7 separate regions of the Homo sapiens genome follow, and regions 1, 2, 3, 4, 6 and 7 are each linked to region 5. The links are contacts of gene promoters, found by promoter capture Hi-C in blood cells and fetal thymus (Javierre and others, 2016). All regions are on one chromosome and are shown on one strand. Each heading gives the region's core, a stretch centred on a gene start or on the middle of the fragment in contact. The rest is flanking DNA. Distances are from core to core; before and after follow the strand shown. Region 1 overlaps PIKFYVE (phosphoinositide kinase, FYVE-type zinc finger containing). Region 2 has its middle 4.7 kb from the start of PIKFYVE. Region 3 overlaps FASTKD2 (FAST kinase domains 2). Region 4 overlaps FASTKD2 (FAST kinase domains 2). Region 5 holds the start of CREB1 (cAMP responsive element binding protein 1). Region 6 overlaps DYTN (dystrotelin). Region 7 has its middle 47 kb from the start of CPO.

Evidence for each region. Contacts are between HindIII fragments. The CHiCAGO score rates a contact against its expected background, and 5 or more counts as called.
Region 1: a fragment that was not itself captured here is called in contact with the fragment with the promoter of CREB1 in region 5 in 1 of 17 cell types (total B cells); the score reaches 8.6 in total B cells.
Region 2: a fragment that was not itself captured here is called in contact with the fragment with the promoter of CREB1 in region 5 in 1 of 17 cell types (total CD8 T cells); the score reaches 5.5 in total CD8 T cells.
Region 3: a contact is called between a fragment that was not itself captured here and the fragment with the promoter of CREB1 in region 5, in 11 of 17 cell types (fetal thymus, naive CD8 T cells, total CD8 T cells and 8 more). The highest score is 19.0, in fetal thymus.
Region 4: a fragment that was not itself captured here is called in contact with the fragment with the promoter of CREB1 in region 5 in 14 of 17 cell types (naive CD4 T cells, monocytes, naive CD8 T cells and 11 more); the score reaches 16.5 in naive CD4 T cells.
Region 6: a contact is called between a fragment that was not itself captured here and the fragment with the promoter of CREB1 in region 5, in 1 of 17 cell types (monocytes). The highest score is 6.8, in monocytes.
Region 7: a contact is called between a fragment that was not itself captured here and the fragment with the promoter of CREB1 in region 5, in 4 of 17 cell types (fetal thymus, M2 macrophages, megakaryocytes and 1 more). The highest score is 9.1, in fetal thymus.

The regions. Positions count from the first base shown.
Region 1 is chr2:208,312,574-208,315,273 of GRCh38, forward strand. It overlaps PIKFYVE (phosphoinositide kinase, FYVE-type zinc finger containing), which reads left to right. Exons shown (of 42, transcript NM_015040.4): 14 at 1,721-1,850; 15 at 2,620-2,700. Among named protein-coding and RNA genes, the nearest start is that of PIKFYVE, 48 kb to the left of the region's middle. The HindIII fragment of the contact is 3,644 bases long and covers 1-2,700 here.
Region 2 is chr2:208,260,147-208,262,937 of GRCh38, forward strand. No RefSeq gene overlaps it. Among named protein-coding and RNA genes, the nearest start is that of PIKFYVE, 4.7 kb to the right of the region's middle. The HindIII fragment of the contact is 6,247 bases long and covers 1-2,791 here.
Region 3 is chr2:206,767,476-206,770,175 of GRCh38, forward strand. FASTKD2 (FAST kinase domains 2) reads left to right here. Exons shown (of 12, transcript NM_001136193.2): 3 at 2,616-2,700. Among named protein-coding and RNA genes, the nearest start is that of FASTKD2, 3.2 kb to the left of the region's middle. RefSeq lists an enhancer at 2,224-2,700. The HindIII fragment of the contact is 2,931 bases long and covers 1-2,700 here.
Region 4 is chr2:206,787,252-206,790,004 of GRCh38, forward strand. It overlaps FASTKD2 (FAST kinase domains 2), which reads left to right. Exons shown (of 12, transcript NM_001136193.2): 9 at 686-904; 10 at 1,568-1,652. Among named protein-coding and RNA genes, the nearest start is that of MIR3130-1, 5.3 kb to the left of the region's middle. The HindIII fragment of the contact is 5,023 bases long and covers 1-2,753 here.
Region 5 is chr2:207,528,639-207,531,424 of GRCh38, forward strand. It overlaps CREB1 (cAMP responsive element binding protein 1), which reads left to right and starts at 1,324. Exons shown (of 8, transcript NM_004379.5): 1 at 1,324-1,496. It overlaps LOC124907970 (a long non-coding RNA gene), which reads right to left and starts at 959. Exons shown (of 3, transcript XR_007088060.1): 1 at 798-959. RefSeq lists silencers at 693-872, 1,543-1,672, 1,703-1,752, 2,463-2,632 and enhancers at 893-1,092, 1,353-1,452. The HindIII fragment of the contact is 5,804 bases long and covers 1-2,786 here.
Region 6 is chr2:206,707,233-206,709,932 of GRCh38, forward strand. DYTN (dystrotelin) reads right to left here. Exons shown (of 12, transcript NM_001093730.1): 3 at 70-271. Among named protein-coding and RNA genes, the nearest start is that of DYTN, 9.8 kb to the right of the region's middle. The HindIII fragment of the contact is 4,270 bases long and covers 1-2,700 here.
Region 7 is chr2:206,985,085-206,987,853 of GRCh38, forward strand. No RefSeq gene overlaps it. Among named protein-coding and RNA genes, the nearest start is that of CPO, 47 kb to the left of the region's middle. The HindIII fragment of the contact is 3,782 bases long and covers 1-2,769 here.

The sequences.
Region 1 (2,700 bases), core at 89-2,588, 780 kb after region 5:
TAGTTTACACTTAACTGTATTGTGAATATAATATTAAGTATTGATATAAATATCATCAAGGATTGTCAAATTTGTCAAAAAGCCCACAGGCAGATCTCCAGTTAAGGATGCTGCTTGCCCTGTGGAGTGAGGAAGAGAAGCAGGCAGTAGAGGTTAAAGAACTAACTCTGATGATAAATTTCTTTTGGACACAAAAGGAGATTAGCCTTCTCCTATTCCTTCCCTACTTAGCTTAGCTTAGCTTCCTAGAGTAAAGACATTCTTAGTCCATAGTACTCCACTGGTTAGGCCTCAGATAATGGGAGAAAATTTCTCTTCCTTCTTGGCTCCCACGGTTTCAGATCAAAGAGAGAAGGCAAGCGGGTACAAGGAGCCACTGCAGCTTATCTGATAGCTTGGCAGTGCTTCTAAATTCATCTCCAAGCATCTGGTTCGGCTAGAAGTTTACAGAGTGGCCCTTTATGTAATTGAAATGTGCAATTCTTGTACTTCACATGTCATGGACATATACTTTACTGTGTAATCTGCTGGGCTGTTTGGTGGAAGTTTTTTTGTTTGTTTGTTTTGCTTTTAAGAGGGGACAGGTTAGAGAATTTTTGTAAGCATTTCCCACTTCTTTTCTTTCCACTTATTTGGTCAGATTATTCAACAGTTATTTAGTGAACATATTTTTTTGTTAAGCATTTATTATTTATTTTTTGTCTTATCTATTTTCATTCATCCTTTAAAAAATTTAAAGATTTTACACAAATTCTACATAAATGCTATTTATTATGTTTTAATATTTATGTTTTTGAGTCTGTCTTGCTAAAATTTTGTTAAAAAACCCCTGTGCCAATATTGAAAGAGAAACACTATTGAGGATTGTCTGAATAGACTTTCTACACTGTCATCTGTTGTTTTGTGATATCTGAGCTGAGCTTCTTTCTTGAAAATTCATCACTCTCGCTATCATGTGTTCTTTTGCCAGCATTCAGATTTCTGTTGAATGCAGTTTTCAGTTTGTGATTTTTTTTTTTTTTTTTTTGAGATGGAGTCTCGCTCTGTCACTCAGGTTGGAGTGCAGTGGTGCGATCTTGGCTCACTGCAATCTCTGCCTCCTAGGTTCAAGTGATTCTCCTGCCTCAGCCTCCCTTGTAGCTGGGATTACAGGCGTGTGCCAACACGCCCAGCTAATTTTTGTGTTTTTAGCAGAGATGGAGTTTCGCCATGTTGGCCAGGCTGGTCTCGAACTCCTGACCTCAGGTGATCTGCCCACCTCGGCCTCCCAAAGTGTTGGAATTACAGGCGTGAGCTACCACGCGCGGCCCAGTTTGTGATTTTAAAGGGGAAATTAACACCCTCGTTTTTAAAAATTAAAAGGAGAAGCAAAAGTTTCATTTTATTTGCTTTTCAGAAGCTGTGCTTATAATTATTGGCTTGAGAGTCTTAGTTACGTACATTTGATTTTCACAGTTCTGTTTCTGATTTTGGCTGTTGCCAATTACTGCTCTTCTTAATTCTTGCATTTCTGTATTTTTAGTGTATTTTATGTATTTGTAAGTATTTTCTTATGCATTTTATTTATATGTTTATTACATGTTCTTGCCTTTTTACACCAATAATTTATGTTGGCTAACTTAAAACATTTATAAAGACAAAGGGCAATTTCTAAATATATGAGTAGATGGTATAAAACAGGACAATGAAGTAATAACTTCTTATTTTATATTGTACTTAGAATCCTTATTTAATCGCCGAGTAGAGGAAAAATCCAAAGAGCTGCCTTTCACACCTTTGGGCTGGCATCATAACAACCTGGAGCTCCTGAGGGAGGAGAATGGGGAGAAACAAGCCATGGAGAGGTTGCTGTAAGGCAATGAAATTTTTAATTTTAATTTTTCACTTTTATTATCTTCAGTGACTTGATAAGCATATGCATCATTCCTCTTAAAAAGGGAGGTCTTTTTCTTTTTCCTTAGAAAGTAAAAAAATACTAAGGTTACTTAGGAAATACAGTCTATTTTGACTTGTGATTAAATTTCTTATAAAACCAAGAGCCCCGGCTGGGTGCAGTGGCTCACGCCTGTAATCCCAGCACTTTGGGAGGCTGAGGCGGGAGGATCACAAGCTCAGAAGGTTGAGACCAGCCTGGCCAACATGGTAAAACCCCGTCTCTACTAATAATACAAAAATTAGCCAGGCGTGGTGGCGCTGGCCTGTAATCCCAACTACTCAGAGGCTGAGACAGGAGGATTGCTTGAACTCAAGAGGCGGAGGTTGCAGTGAGCTGAGATCGCGCCACTGCACTCCAACCTAGGCAACAGAGCAAGACTTCGTCTCAGAGAAAAAAAACAAAAACAAAAGCCCCAAACTGTGCTTGTCTGTCCCCATTTTACGTGTTAAAATTTCATTTCAGTCAATTGCAGGGGACTTCTTAGTGGAAGATATTCAGATTTCATTTATATGCAAAATCCTTAAGGTACAGATATAATGAAAGAATGATATTGACCTAGAAAATCTTATCTGTGAGCCGTAATTGAAATGTTTATTTCTTTGTAGGCTGTTTGTTTTATCATCAGAATTATTGTCTCTGGCAGTATTAACTATGCAAACTTCTTTCTTATAATATTTTTGTAGTTCAGCTAATCATAACCACATGATGGCACTACTCCAGCAGTTGCTCCATAGTGACTCACTGTCATCATCTTGGAGGGACAT
Region 2 (2,791 bases), core at 55-2,554, 730 kb after region 5:
GATCTTGGCTTACTGCAACCTCCACCTCTACGGTTCAAGTGATTCTCCTGCCTCAGTCTCCTGAGCAGCTGGGATTACAGGCGCGGGCCACCACGCCTGGCTAATTTTTGTATTTTTAGCAGAGATGGGGTTTCACCATATTGGCCAGGCTGGTCTTGAACTCCTGACCTCAAGTGATCTGCCCGCCTTGGCATCCCCAAGTGTTGGGATTACTGGCGTGAGCCACCACGCCTGGCGGAAAAATGCTTTTAAAAGTCTTAGTCAACATACTATTGATGTCTACATATTTTAAAAAATTATTTGTATTACTTCCATGTTGGTTGTGTTGGTTAGAATGGATTTGATTATATTGCTTTCATGTCATTTGTGTTGGTTTGTATTGGATGTTTCCTTTTTGTTTCTTTAATGTTTAAATGGCTGTGACAAATGTCTTTATCTTCCTTTTTTAAAACACAGATCAATTCTTTGGGCTACATTGCTAGAATGGGAATTATTAGATCATGAAGTATAAATATATTTAAGGTGCTTGTTAAATCCACCAAATCATTTTCTAGGGGGGAATATACCAATTTATATTTTCACATGCAGTGTAAGAGAGTGCTAATTTTATTGCATCCTAGCTGGAACTTAGTTTCATAATTTTTACAAACATGTCTGCATCCCTACTAAAAGGAATTGGTGCTCCTTTGAGAGCTGATTGATTCTAGGCCCGGGGCAGGGAAAGTTCAAGATGAGCCTGCTGGGTCAAAAAGTAAGGAAGTGCTCTCAACAAATTAGGTATAGCAAGAATATGCCTCAACACAATAAAGGTTATATATGACAAACCAACAGTTAACATCATTTCAACAGTAAAAAAGAGCTTTTCCTCTAAGGTCAGGAACACGACCAAGACATGCACTCTTGCCACTTCTATTTAACATAGTACTAGAAGTCCTAGTCAGGGCAATTAGGCAAAAGAATGAAATAAAAGGCATCCAAATTGAAAAGGAAGAAATTAAATTGTACCTGTTTGCAGATGACATGATTTTTTTGTTTTTTTTGGAGACAGAGTGTTACTCTGTCACCCAGGCTGGAGTGCAGCAGTGAGATCTCGGCTCACTGCAACCTCTGCCTCCTGGGTTCAAGAAATTCTCCTGCCTCAGCCTCCTGAGTAGCTGGGACTACAGGCATGCGCCACCATGCCTGGCTAATTTTTCTATTTTTAGTAGAGATGGGGTTTCAGCATGTTGGCCAGGCTGGTCTCGAACTCCTGACCTCATGATCTGCCCACCTCTGCCTCCCAAAGTGCTGGGATTACAGGCGTGAGCCACCACACCTGGCAGGTTACATGATCTTATACATAAAAAACCCTAAAGACTGCACCAAAAAACTATTAGAATAAACAAATTTAGTAATGTTGTAGGATATAAAATCAGTATACAAAAATGAGTACTGTTTCCAAATATTAACAGTGAACTATCTGAAAGAGAAATCAATAAAACAATCCTATTTGCAATAGCTACAAAAATATATTAAAATACTTAGAAATAAATACGGGCCAGGTGTGGTGGCTCACACCTGTAATCCCAGCACTTTGGGAGGCCAAGGCAGGCGAAGCACGAGGTCAGGGGTTTGAGACCAGCCTGGCCAACATGGTGAAACCCCGTCTCTACTAAAAATACAAAAAAATTAGCTGGGCGTAGTGGTGGGCACCTGTAATCCCAGCTACTCAGGAGGCTGAGGCAGGAGAATTGCTTGAACCTGGGAGGCGGAGGTTGCAGTGAGCCGAGATGGCCCCACTGCACTCCAGCCCGGGTGACACAGTGAGACTCCATCTCAAAAAAAAAAAAAAAAAAAAGAAAGAAATTTAACAGAAGTAAAAGACCCGCACACTGAAACCTATAAAACATTGATGAAAGAAACTGAAGAAGACAGAAATAAATAAAAAGACATCTCATGTTTATGGGTTGAAAGAATTAATATTGTTAAAATGTCCAAAGTGATCCACAGATTCAATGCAATCCCTATAAAAATTCCAATGACTTTTTCGCACAGCTAGAAAAAAAAGTCTAAAATTCCTATGGAATGACAAAAGAGGCTGAATAGCTAAAGAATTCTTGAGCAAAAAGAACAAAGCTAGAAGCATCATACTGCTTGATCTCAAAATACACTACAAAGCTACAGTAATCAGAACAGCATGGTACTGGCAGAGAAACAGACAAACCAACTGAACAGAATAAAGAGTCTATCAGTTAATAGGATGCTCATTTTTAAAAAAAAATAAAAAGTGAAAAAAAGAATAAAGAGTCCAGAAGTAAATTTACCCATTTACAGTCAATTGTTCAATAAGGGGACAAGAATACACTATAGGGAAAGGATATTCTCTTCAATAAGTAGTAATGGGTAAATGGGATATCCATATGCAGGAGAATGAAATTAGAGGCTTATCTCATACCATATATAATAATCAACTCAAATAAATTGAAGACGTTATGTGTACCCCCTGAAACTGTAAAAAACGAGAGGGAAAAGCTCCATGACATTGGTCTGAGTAGTGATTTTTTAGATATGACCCCAAAAGCACAGGCTACAAAAGCCAAATAGACAAATGGGATTACATAAAACTGAGAAGTTTCTACAGAGCAAGGGTTACAATAGACAGACTGAAGAGACAACAGAGAACAGGAGCAAATATTTGCCAGCCATACATCTGATAAAGGGATAATATCCAAAATATATAAGGAACTCAAACAACTCAATAGTAAGAAAGCAAATAATCTGATTATAAAATGGGCAAAGGATGTGAATAGAC
Region 3 (2,700 bases), core at 155-2,654, 760 kb before region 5:
ATAAAAAGGAGATTTAAACATGCATTTACTTGATTTAGAATATTTTGAAAGAATGAAGGGATATAGATATGTAGCCTTCTTAAAAGAGACTATCAAATGGAATGGTAGTTTCCTTTATATTTATTTCTGCATATATATTATATGATTTAGAGGCCTTAAGTTAGCTATTTTCTTCCTTTTGCTATGGAAATTTATGAAAGCCTTCCACATTTACCATCCCCAGGGTTGAGTAGTGGTGAAGAAGCTAAAGTGAGGAGAGATGCAAGATATACAAAGAAAGCCTGGGTAGTTGAAGAAGGAGAGAAGGGAAGGGGAAGGAAGAGAATTTAGTCCATGGTAGAATTGGAATTCAGGCCCAGTAGATGATACCTAAACTGATGAGCAGAATGATAGTGAAGGGGATGGTGTTTCAAGTAGAGAGGATTGCATGCCCTACTGTTCCCAGAGGAAAAGTTTGGCAAATTTGAAGAGCTGAAAGTAGTTTGGTGTAGCTGAAGCACAGAATGATGGAGTTGTATGTTTGAGTGGGTGGGAACAAGTTTTGTACATGGCGATCAAAGGAGAGGAGTGAGGGGCAAGAGGCTTAGGGGCAGAACAAGAGGCCAGAAAAATAGGAACCAAATCATAAAGAGCCTCTTACGGCTAGCTAAGGAGTATGCATTTATCCTGTAGGCAATGGGAATCCGTTGAAGAATTTTAAGCAATGGGTTGACGTGCTCAAATTTGTATTTTAGATCACTGAATGAGTGGAAGATGTATTGGAAGAAGGTTAAAATTGGATGGAGGGAGCCATTTTTAGTCTAAAGCAAGAATGTCAGTGTCCTGTTTAATGTCACTGAAATGGTGCCAAATGTAAGGAAGGAAGGATTAGCTTGTTAATCATTTATGTTTTAAGAGTGTACACTTCTGACGTATAAACTCAGTGATAATGAAGTAATTTCTTAGCCAGGTGTGGTGGCTCACACCTGTAATCCCAGCACTTTGGGAGGCCAAGGCAGGAGGATCTCTTGAGCCCAGGAGTTTGCGACCAGCCTGGGCAACAAAGGGAGACTCCATCTCTACAAAAAATACAAAAATTAGCTGGGTGTGATGTACTTGCCTGTGGTCCCAGCTACTTGGGAGGCTGAGGTGGGAATATCACTTGAGCCTGGGAGGTCGAAGCTGCCGTGAGCCATGATCGTGCCACTGCACTCCAGCCTGGGTGACAGAGCCAGACCCTGTCTGAAAATAATAATAATAATTTTTTAAAAGACAGGAATTCCTTGGGGATAATCTGGCATATATCCTGTCTTGCTATAGAATTCAATAATTGGGTTCATAGCTATGGGAAAGTTTTTAACTTTTTACATTACTGTGATTTCCATATGTCCTTAAGGAATAACTAATTTTTATTTAGTGTATGTGTGTGTATTTGTTTAAACCACAGAATATCCCTGTTTATTTGTAGGCTGTGTATTAGTTCCTATGTAGTTATTTAAAAGTGACTAATAAATCACCTTACCTGGTCAGTGATGCTCTTACTAGATTTTGGACAGATATTTGCATCGGGATGACATCTGTGTTGGTGAGGTATGAGTAGTAGATTTTTGTAGTCAAAACATCTGTATGGATGATGGTGTCTCACTGACCTGTTGGAATAATGTAAAGACATTTTAGAGGTGAAAGGACAGTGTGCCATCAATGAATTTGCCCTTCAAACACATAGACAAGTGGTCTTTTCTTTCATAGTAGATATGGATGGAATGCTGTAAAATTGTTAAGGAAACCCTTTCATAGGAAAGAAACCTTTTTTTTCTTCTAACCATAACCATTTCTTATTATTACCTGGTTCTGACTTAAGACTTTGTGATTCATTGGTTATGTAATTTTAGCAAAAGAGCTTCTCTCTCTTCAGGCTAAGTTTCCTCAGATGTGATTTTTTGTGAGGTTTATAGACTAGTGATTAAACTGTAGAGTACTGCTAGTTAAGCTGTGTTGTTACTATTCACTTTCCAGATTATGCCCACTATTTCTGGAATCAAACTTAGTACCCTAAGTAAAGGGACCTGAAAGAAGAATCTGTGGGGTGTAGGCTTCCCTTGAGACCCAGATAGCAGTGGTAGAATGTGGCAGGAGATGTGAATCAGAAGACTCACAAGTAAAGTTTCAGCTTGATACCCAGGAAAGGATCTAGGGAAATTGTAAAGGCACAACCATTTAAGGATCTTTAGAGATGGGCTAGTTACCTTCTGTACTTCAGTAGTTCTTATATTCCTGCACTTTAACTGTTTTTGCCTTTGTAATGACCTTGAATTCCAAGAAGAGGTAAAAATAATGTTTAATAAAAGTTGTTTCAGAAGCAGTGGAATATAATAAATATCAAATGTGTTTTCAGTGATAATGGTGAAGGTAAAAAAGTGTTGATGCATAAAAGGATGTGTATCAGTCAGCTGGAAAATTCAGTAAGTATGACTTTTTATTTCCCAAAGATGCTGTTTATTGTGGACTGACTGTAGGAATTGTTGGTTTGATACTCAATCGTTTTATTCAGTACATCAGTTCAGTGGTTTTGCTTGGGTAAGATAGTTTACTATGGGCTCATCACCTGTAGTGTTTTTGTAATTATATTTCAATAGGAACGTATCAATGAGTGTGATGAGATATGCCTTTCAGTTTTGTCAACTGTTTTAGAGGCAATGGAACCATGCAAGAATGTTCATG
Region 4 (2,753 bases), core at 22-2,521, 740 kb before region 5:
GCCAACCTAAGTCAATTTTTGCAGCTGTAAACACTTGGTCACTCCTGGCCTGTGATGAGGGAACACCTGTTAGATCAAGAAACCAAATAGCCACCAAATTAATTAGTTCATTTACTCTTGGAACCAAATTAACTGTTGACTTTTAGTCTTTAGTATTAAATAAGGCAAAGCAATATTCAGGTAGATGTACAAAATTTGACGATGTGTCTGAGAATAGAGTAGTTCAGAATTAAAACATAAATAAATAAATGTTATAAAATCCCAAAGTTGAGTTGTAGAGAGTCAGTCAATAATACCACGTGCTGGTTTTTCAGGCAGTGTAATAATGGAGAAACAGCCTTGAACCTTGGAAACCTGGATTCTAGTTCCAACTTTGCCTTAATTACGAGGCTTTTTAACTTTCCTGGGCATTTCCTTATCCATAAATTGAGGAGTTTAGACTAAATGACCTCTAAAGATATTTGAAGCCTTAAAACATTATCAAGTGCAGGGCTTTGATTTAGACCCTGTGGAAACCAGGGAGACAAAGAGAGAGTCCTTGTGATAAGAAAGAGATAATTAGAAATACAAGTGCATTTATGTATATATTTATTATTTTATAACTATTACTAAATATATACTAATATAGTTTTTTAATGTTGCATTTATTTCTTCTTAATGATATACTCTCTTTTTCATCTTTTAGATGACATGAAGAATGCTTACAAGCTGCATACTTTGGATACTTGTCTAAAACTTGATGATACTGTCTATCTGAGGGACATAGCCTTGTCACTCCCACAGCTGCCGCGGGAGCTGCCATCGTCACATACAAATGCAAAGGTGGCAGAGGTGCTGAGCAGCCTTCTGGGAGGTGAAGGACACTTCTCAAAGGATGTGCACTTGCCACACAATTATCATATTGGTATGGGACATTATATGATTTCCTTTCATTTTATTGTATTTATTTTCCTTTTTTTCTGACCAAAAAAATAGGTATTTGTGGCAGCAGTTTAGTGTAGTGCAGCATTGCCTCTGGAACTGGCCTGATTCTTGCCTCATAAAATTCTTGTGACCAATAAATGAAATTCTACACATTTTTATGTGTCTAAAATCCCAAGACTAGTATCTGACACATGGTTAGCTCTCAATATATTTTAGCTACTGCTATTATCATTATTGGTAGTACTATTAAACATTTTGAAACAGAAAATCACTTGGGGCTGGTCACGGTGGCACACGCCTGTAATCCTAGCATGTGGAGAGGCCGAGGCAGGTGGATCACTGGAGCTCAGGAGTTCAAGACCAGCCTGACCAAATGGTAAAATCCTGTCTCTACCAAAAAAATACAAAACTTAGATGGGCGTGATGGCATGCCCCTGTAGTCCCAGCTACTCAACAGGGTGGGGTAAAAGGATTGCTTGAACCTGGGAAGTTGCTGCAGTGAGCTGAGATCACACTACTGCACTCCAGCCTGGATGACAGAGCGAGACCACATCTCAAAAAAAAAAAAAAAAAGGAAAAGAAAAGAAAAAGAAAGTCACTTGGAGGAATGTTTGAAAAATTAATATCAATTCTTTCCTTTCAGATTTTGAAATCAGAATGGACACTAACAGGAATCAAGTGCTACCACTTTCTGATGTGGATACAACTTCTGCTACAGATATTCAAAGGTTGCTTACATATATTTCATTTGCTGGGCTTTCTGAATTAAAATCCTAATTCTAAAAGACTTCATATTAAATAGCAGTAGTAAATCTAAGACTTGATGTTTGTATGGAGCCTGCAGCACACCAAGAGACTTGTCATCCATCAATGTACTCCTTAGAAAGTGTAAATGTGGACGTTATGGTTGAATACAATGGACTACAGTATTGGTCATTTAATGAGACAGACATTTTTTTAAAATTAGGTTTTGAAGCTATAGTTCAATAAAACAATATTAATATAATTGAAACTATCAATGCAGTGTAGACTTTGGACAAGATAATATAATAGTGATCATAAAGAATAAAGACTCGAGGCTTCTACAAAAATCAAATACCCAATAAATATTTTGCTCTACCACCAAGACTTTTCCAGAGGTAGAGAAACCGTAGTTTTTTAATTAAACTGTATTTGTATGGGTTAGAGCACATTGAAGCTAATCCTAAGTTGTTTCTTTGGCTCACACATTACAAATAGAGTGTCTCTGGGGAGAAATATGATGCTATACCATGAGAGAACATCCTGCCTCTTCAGTAGATGCATAAGATCATGCCATCATTGCACACACCCGTGGGTCAGTTACCCTTTATGTAAAAGCTCTGCTACATGGATCCTGACCCCAAGGAACTTGTATCTTCTGTTAACTCCACTGGACACACACACACACATAAATATGATAGAAACATACAAAAAAATCTGTAGGGATCCAAGCTCTTATCTGCCCATCCCTCTTCATTCACACACAGTTCTGTGACTTTCACCTCTTTCTGAATGCATCTAGCTTATTTCTTGGCCATCTTTTCAACCGCTGTCTTTCCTATTAGTGCTACCCATCTCCCCTCAGAAGAGGCTTTCTCTCTGACCTCATTCCAAGATCAGTTTTCTTTTTCGGGTACTCCGCTATTCTGGCATAATAAAATAACAGTTGTTCTCAGCATAAAGTCATGAGAAGTGAAGAATGTGAGCATTCCTTTAAAAACATAAAATTTGTCTTATAACAGCCAGAGTATAGGTGAAGGCAGTAAGGATATAAATGTCTTTTTTTTTTCTTTTTTTCTCCCAGTAAA
Region 5 (2,786 bases), core at 74-2,573:
TAAGACTTGAGGCCGGGCGCGGTGGCTCATACGTGTAACCCCACCACTTTAGGAGGCCGAGGCGGGTGGATTACCTGAGGTCAGGAGTTCCATACCAGCCTGGCCAACATGGTGAAACCCCGTCTCTACTAACAACACAAAAATTAGCCAGGTGTGGTGGCAGGTGCCTGTAATCCCAGCTACTAGGGAGGCTGAGGCAGGAGAATCGCTCGAAACCGGGAGGCGGAGGTTGCAGTGAGCCGAGATCGTGCCACTGCACTCCAGCCTGGGCGACAAGGGCTAGACTCCGTCTCATTAAAAAAAAAAAAAAAAAAAAAAAGACTTGAAACCCCAAGGAGAGGGCTGCAGAGTTCACTATCAAGGAGAATGGGGACCTAGTGGTGCCGTCCTGAGAGACCTCTGAAAGAACAATTCAGTAGTTTCCAGCCACGGAAGTCCCCCTGCTGGGTTTAGGGTGCAGTGGGTGCGAATCCCTGCTGTAGAAAACAGGCTGAGGAAAGAAAGCGACACAGGATGTTGTCTGGAGAAAGGCGGGGAGGTAGGATGGGGCATATTTCCAGGGGTCCGGGCAGGTTGTGTGGCTTGGAGGCCTCCGAGGGCCGTCGACGTCAGCCATGGTCCGGGCAGAGCCCCGCAAGGTGCCACAGTATCGGGGCCAGCGCCCCCCGGAAAAGCATGCTCCGCTGGCGGCCGCCAGGTTTCTCCGCGGAGTCTCGGAAAGGAAAACCCGTCCCCACGGGGGTCCCACGACGCCCCCGGGTCCCAGGCCCCGGGACGTTGGCAGAGGCGCAGCAGACCTTCTTCCCCAGCCCGCACGGCTCCAGCGGTCCGGCCGCGTCCCAGCCCGGGCTGCCCGTCCCCCGTCTCCCGGCGGCGTCGGAAAGTTCCCGGGGCTGGCGGCGGTCAAGAGCAGAGCCAGGGCAGCCGCAGCCGCCTTCTAGCCCGCCGCTCACCGCCGCAGGGGCAGGCCTGAGCGGGGGTTTCCACCAAGTCGCCGACACCCCTCGGGAATTCCCCCACTGGGCCACACACAAACCCCGCTTCCTCCTTCAAATTTCCGCTGCCGGCTTTACCGATGCGAAAGCCGCGGTGGAGTTTAGACCACTCCTCCCGGCGCCGGGCTCAGCCCGCCTTCGCCTTCCCTCTCCCCGCGGAACCCCTTCTCGTCGCCCGAAGAAACCCGAAGGTCTTCGGCAAGTTCCGTCCCCAGCGCGGGGGCGGGGCCGCTCGAGCTGCTCCGGGCCTAGCTCGGCTGTTTCCGTGCGCGGCCGCTGCGCACTCGGCACTGGGCGGCGCTGGCTGGCTCCCTGGCTGCGGCTCCTCAGTCGGCGGCGGCTGCTGCTGCCTGTGGCCCGGGCGGCTGGGAGAAGCGGAGTGTTGGTGAGTGACGCGGCGGAGGTGTAGTTTGACGCGGTGTGTTACGTGGGGGAGAGAATAAAACTCCAGCGAGATCCGGGCCGTGAACGAAAGCAGTGACGGAGGAGCTTGTACCACCGGTAAGAGGAGCAGGAGGAGGAGGCAGGAGCCAGAGAGAGCCGGGGGGACGGAGGGGGGACGGGGAGGCGCCGGACACCCGCGCTTGGGGCCTTCCCCTCGCAGGAGGGGCCGCGGTAAAGATGGAGCCTCCGCCCGAGCCCCACAACATCGCCGCCGCTCGCAGCGAACAAAGAATAATGGCGGCGGACTGGAGCCAGCGGCGGCCGGGGCGGCAGCGACTCTGCCTGCAGCCAGCGGCGGCGCTCATGGCGGGGGGCGGCGGGCGGCGGGCGGCGGGCGGGGTGGGAGCCGGCGGCCGGGGGTGTGTGCGGGCGGCCGGCCGCGGCGAGCTGGCGCCCGCGTTCCCGCCGCCGCCGCCGGGCCGGGCGCGGAGCCGGGAACCCGGAGCCGCCCCGGGGGAGGCCGCCCGCTCGGCCCGGCGCTGCCCCCCGCGCCGCTCGCTCGTCCGGCCCCCGCCGCCCGCCTCGCCCCCGGCCCGACCCGGCCGGGCCTCCGGGGCAGCCGCCGCCTAGGTGCCGGTGGGGGATGGAGGAGGAAGAAGGCGACAGTTGAGGGCAGAGGAGGTGAAGGTGCCTGCTGCCTTCCCGGTGGCTTCGGTGCCTGCCATGCCCGCTTCGCAAGGGGAAGAGCTGCAACGTCTGACCTACTCTTCTCTCCACTCTTTGTGCAATAAAGTTCGAAACCCAAGGTTTCCTCTCGTGCTGTATTTTATTCGTGCCCTTTCCCCCCCGCTCCTACACCGTTGAGGAAATGCTGCTTTCTGCCCTGTGTTGCTTAGTTGAGAGATGAGAGCTTGTGCTTTTGGGGGGAATTTTTGACTCCCTCACCCCTTTGCTTTTTTTTTTTTTTTAAAGTCAGTCATGGAAATGCATGCTTTTTGGGAGAAAGGGTGCTAAGAAAAACATTTATAATAACTTTTTAAACTGTTGGGATCTTATAAAAGGGAAGCTGGTGTTTGAAAACAGTTTCGGTTTTAACCCTTTTTAATAAGGTAATCATCACTTGAGATCTATCATTCTGAAACACTTCGTTGGAACGAGTATCAGCCGATGTACTCTTGTTTTACATCATTTCGCGGGGTGCAACCTTGCCAACCGCGTTTGGGTCATCTGGATCTCCCCTCACCCTCCGTCCCACTCCCCCTACCATATTTCCCACGAATTTCTGTGTGAACTTTAATGAGAGATTGATTTAATACTACTACTAAAAATAGACATTAAAGTATCCATTATTTGTCTCATGCAGTAGGTAACCCCCGTCTTGAGATTGACAATTTAAGCCACAAGCTG
Region 6 (2,700 bases), core at 69-2,568, 820 kb before region 5:
CAAATGGTAAATGACCACTGGAAACTAAACTTTGCCTTTGAGGTCACAGCGCGACGTCCACACCCTCACCTGTTGTACATTGTCGTGAGAAGGCTCAGAGTGAGTTCCGGAGCTCTGGGATGCACTTGTCCTGGGTTTTCCTCCCTGGCCTTCTGAAACAGCTCTTGGAGTGCCTGAGAAAGTTGCTGCACAGAAAGGGAGTGCTTGCGAGCTTCCCAGAAACTTGGACGCAGTAGGACCTGCTGAATCAGGGAGCTGTCAATCAAGTCCACTGTAGGAAGCAAATGAAGAATTGAGCCTTATTTTCTGATGGGAACAAAAGGCTTCAAATAAAGCAAATGTCATTTGGTGTTTTATAATTAAGACTTTTTATGGTCGCTATTTTCTTTTAAGGGGAATGAAATATGACTACTATTTGGACATATATTCCTTGTGTATACTTCAGGCGTTACTATTCTAGCGATTCATTTGATTTTGGAAAGGTGCATCTGTTAGTAAAGCATAGTTGTAACATTATTACCAGTACAGTTTCTAGGATGTTGTTTTATAGAAAGAAGTTAAAAAGGGAAGTGAGAAACGAAAAATACGCTTTCCAAGAAAGTTATGACACTGTGGTAAAAAGTTGGGGAAAACATTTTTATACTCTTCATTAAGTGGATTGAATAAATTTACCTTTCCTGTTCAAATATAGTTTTTCTTGTCTGCAGCCCAGCTTCAGAAGCAATATGGTGTGTTGAAAAGCAATTGCCGTAGTTAAATACAAAACAGTGATCTTCATAAAAGAGCAGTTACTCTTCTGTAAAGATCTTTAGGCTAAAGAGTCTGAGAATTCTGCAACTCAGTAATACCACTGTTAACAATCTTGGTTCCATCAGTATTATTATCTAGAGAAGGCACTTAATAAAACTACAGCTGCTTACAAAAAATAATGGTTTATTTCTTATACTGAATATTTTTTAACCACCTTCTCCTAAAATTTTTACAAGGCAATGAATAGAAACAAGAATGTAATAGAGCTAACCCCATAGCTTCTTGCAGAGAGAGGATGACAGACAAAATTAATAAACAGCCACTTGCACCATCTGAGAGGTGGGGATATCAAGAGCGCCAAGAGCTCCTGGCATTTAAAACGCTTCAGCCTGTGAAACCATAAAACCCTGGGTTTCTCTCTACTTCGTAAATCAACCTCAGATAAGAAATCTAGCAAGTATAATAAAAATTTTTATTTGTTCTCTGATATTGCTTTTAAGAGGAGAGTCTAAGGAACAGAGGAACAAGTTTCAGAATGTGACTTAAATAAAAACCTGGCTGCAGGTGGTGAAGGCTGTAAACTCTTTTATCGTTAAAACCTGTCACCTCAGCCAGGCATTCTGAACACAGGCCGATTTCATCTCCTGCTGAGAGTTCTATATTACACCAAACCAGATAATAGTGGTGTCCATTAATCTCACCACAAGATTTATACAGCGATGTGTCCCCGATCTTCCTATTTGGAGCTCATGTTATGCTTTATCTCAGTGTTTGGGATTTTCTGTTTTTAAATTTTTGTTTGGATATCTTTTCTAGGTAACATTTTTCAACCACTGATTTTGTGTATTGTTAATATTTCCCATGAGTGTTATTTATATTCACTGTTTCTGATGCCAGAGATAACAAAAAGTTGAAAACTGTGCATCCACAAATTACGCTACGGAACATACTCAGGCATTCGTGACTGGGACATGTGAACAATTGCTGCTAACTTTCTCTAATGGGAGAAATTCTCCAGGAAAATGCATAATTGGGGGTAAATTTTTAGCTTTTTGTTTGTTCCTGGAATAATAAATAATAGTTATAAGTGAGTTTCTTTATCTAGAGCAGTAATCTACATAAAACTGTTTTTAAAACCAAAAATTTCTTCTTCAAAGGAACCTAATACAGAAACACAGTATAAGGCCAGGCGCGGTGGCTGATGCCTGTAATCCCAGCACTTTGGGAGGCCACTGTGGGCAGATCAGTTGAGCTCAGGAGTTCAAGACCAGCCCGGGCAACATGGCGAAACCCTGTCTCTACTAAAAATACAAAAAATTGGCAGGGTGTGGTGGCTCACGCCTGTGGTCCCAGCTACTCGGGAGGTTGAGGTGGAAGGATGGCTTCAGCCTGGGAGGCAGAGGTTGCAGTGAGCTGAGATCCCTCCACTGCACTCCAGCCTGGGTGACAGAGTGAGACCCCAGCTTACACACACACAGACACACACACACACACACACATACAAGCAAACACGGTATGGAAAATAGAGAAGGATGGAGTTGTTCCTGCTGAGGATGTGGTCTTTGAATCGTCCCACCTTGCTTGCAACTCCTCTTCCCACCTGGCTAACTCTTTTTTGCCCTACCCTACATTCACATATATTTTGTGAAGCCCAATTTGAAAACCACTGCCCTATATAACTTTTTAGGCAGGAGGAAAAATATTTTTAAATGTCAGCCTTCAGTAGAAATGTCATATATATAACATAACTTCTCTTAGGTCTGATATGATAAATTTCAGAAATCATTTTACGTGAAGTGATTTTTCTTTCATGCAGTGAGAAATCAATAACTTTAGATATGCTGAATGCCTGATGTGTTTCATAGCTTGGACCCAGTTTATTTTTCACCTTGGAAAATTTTCACAGGATACATGTTTTAGTAAAAACATTTTACCTTATTTTGCCTAGAT
Region 7 (2,769 bases), core at 89-2,588, 540 kb before region 5:
TTTGAAAAATAATTTAATACTGCACAACCAAAGTGGCAACGAACTTTTACCTTTTCTTTTGCCATTGTAGTTGCTGGTGTGAGGGTCAAACTCTAAGGGGAGAGAGTCTGATTAAGCTGGGGTCACATGTTTGGCTGTACCTAGGTGGTGAGAGCTTCTCGTAGAAACCAATAGCCTGTGTGGCTTATAGTCAGGACATCTTGAGGCTTTATACAATATGAAGGGTGTAATTCTTCACATGGAAATTTGGGAGCTGTTAGAAGAGAGGAATGGGTGCTGAGAAACAAAAATTCATCAAAAACACACACACACACACACAAACATGCACCCCACACACCAAATAAAGCAGATGAACAAAGCTGAGGACAGAAAAGGAAAGGAGCCTGGAGCCCAACCCCTTACCCATTATAAAAGTGTCTGGGACATTCCACGACACAGAATGGAAACCATTAATGTGACTCGTCTTCTGAAGATTTGGTATCATGAGATCTAATTTATTATTCCCCACATTTTCAGGGCATGCATTCCACACTATCTTTCCATCACTATTTCCTTCAAAAATTCTTAATGATCATAGTTATAATTTAAATATCAACTCAATATTGACTGTTATCAAAATGTGATTGTGGAAATCACTTGTGTAGTCTCAAATCTGTATGACTTTCTACCTCTGGTCTCGTGATATGATTGTACTTCTTCAACTTCTTTGAAGTTAGGTGTGACCAGGTGTTGTACAAAGAAATGTGAGTGGAAGGGTTGTACATGACTTCCAGGCAGAAGTGTTAAGAGCCAGTGCATAGTTTGTGATGCTTTCTGTCTGCAGCTGCTGTGATCAGGTAAGCACATGGTGAGATAAAGCCTGCGTCAGCCAGGCTCCCTGACTATGGTAGGAAGACTCCCCTGCCGATCCCTGCAGAAGGTATTGGGTTAAGCCACTGAGATTTAGGGATTGTTTATTACTGCAGTTTAGCAGATCCTTACTGATATATCTATTTTCTTTTACTCTGATATCATAAAAGGAGAATATCTTGTTTGTTCTTCCAAAAAGATACTTAGAATTATGGGTACTCTGTACCCATACAGAGATCATGGACTACTGGGCAGAAACTGAGGCTCAGTAAAGTAGTAAAATTAGTATACTAAACCTTAATATTTGTCTTCTCCAACCTCCTTCTGATATGGTTTGGCTGTGGGTCCCCACCCAAATCTCATCTTGAATTGTAGCTCCCATAATTCCCACGTGTGGTGGGAGGGACCTAGTGGGAGGTAATTTAATCATGGAGGTGGGTCTTTCCCGTGCTGTTCTCATGATAGTGAATAAGTCTCACGAGATGTGATGGTTGTATAAAGGGCAGTTCCCCTGCCACACTCTCTTTCCTGCCACCATGTAAGACGTGACTTTGCCCCTCCTCACCTTCTACCACCATTGTGAGGCCTCCCCAGCCACATAGAACTATGAGTCATTAAGCCTCTTTTCCTTTATAAATTACCCAGTCTCGGGTATGTCTTTATTAGCAGCATAAGAACAGACTAATACACCTTCTAAGGCAGGAATTCACTTGGCTATATCCCTACTTTGAAACTACACAGACATGGGTTTGAATTCAGGCTGTGCCACTTACAAGTAATGAGATACTAAGCAAGTGATGTAACCCCTCTAGACCTCAAGTCCCTCATTTGTAAAATAGGAGCAGTATTTTTTTCTGCCTTGCCAGATTATTGTGAGGATTTGAGATATAAAGCACGTATCATGTAAACTGGCATATAGCAACCTAGTATGGTGGTTGTTAACCTCCCTTCTCTTCTTGGACACTTCCAGAGGCAGCATAGACTCATCACTTGGTAACAAACCAGTTTCATCACACAGAACATGTCTAATTGCTAGCAAACTCCTTCTTATTCAGCATAAATCTGCCTTAGCTTCTCTCTATTAGACATTTGGTGTGCTTCTTTTACCTTCTTGAACAGCATGGACCAGTCTTAGTCTTGAATTGTAGCTCAATTGTAGCTCAGTGTTGTCCACATGACAACATCATATATCTGAACACAGCTATCCTGTTCCTTCTAGAGGTCTTCTCTCCTCTCAGAAAAACATTCTCAGTTTCAGTTTTCATAAAATTGAATTTCTAGACAACTCATCTAACCTGGGGACTGTGTTTTAAAATCTCTCTGTAGTATCTAGTAATTAGTAGTTGCTAAATAAATATGCATTCCTCTACTTCTGAGTTCAGATTTCTGAGGCCTTTAATATGACACCTAGGGCTGAACACACCTTTGATCTAACAAGCACAGAGCACAGAAGGAGCCACCTTCTCCCACATTGCCTGCTCCCTACTCTGATCTGATCTGGATACTGTACTTGTAAATGCAGCATGAGATGGCAAATCTTTTATTTAAAGCGAAGTCATGCCACAACCAGCTCATGGTCAACTAAAATTCTTAGATTTTTAATAACTAATTGTCAAGTCAGGGCTCTTCTATGCTGTTATTGCCAAGTCAATTGTTAACCTAATTAAAGAGTCTTTATCCCATTATATGTAATATTATTGTTTTGGGCACTAGGAAAGTCTACCAAACTTTCAGTGTCCTTTTTCTGTCACCTAACTTATTAGCTATTTCTCCCAGTTTGAAGTGTCCCCTGAATCTAATCAGTATGCTGCCCTCATCATTAATAATTGTTTTGACTAGGGCAAAGATAGAAATCACTTTCAGGGTGGTAGAATTCATAAAGTGACATTCCCTTGGGGCATGTTACTTTCACTAGTATAG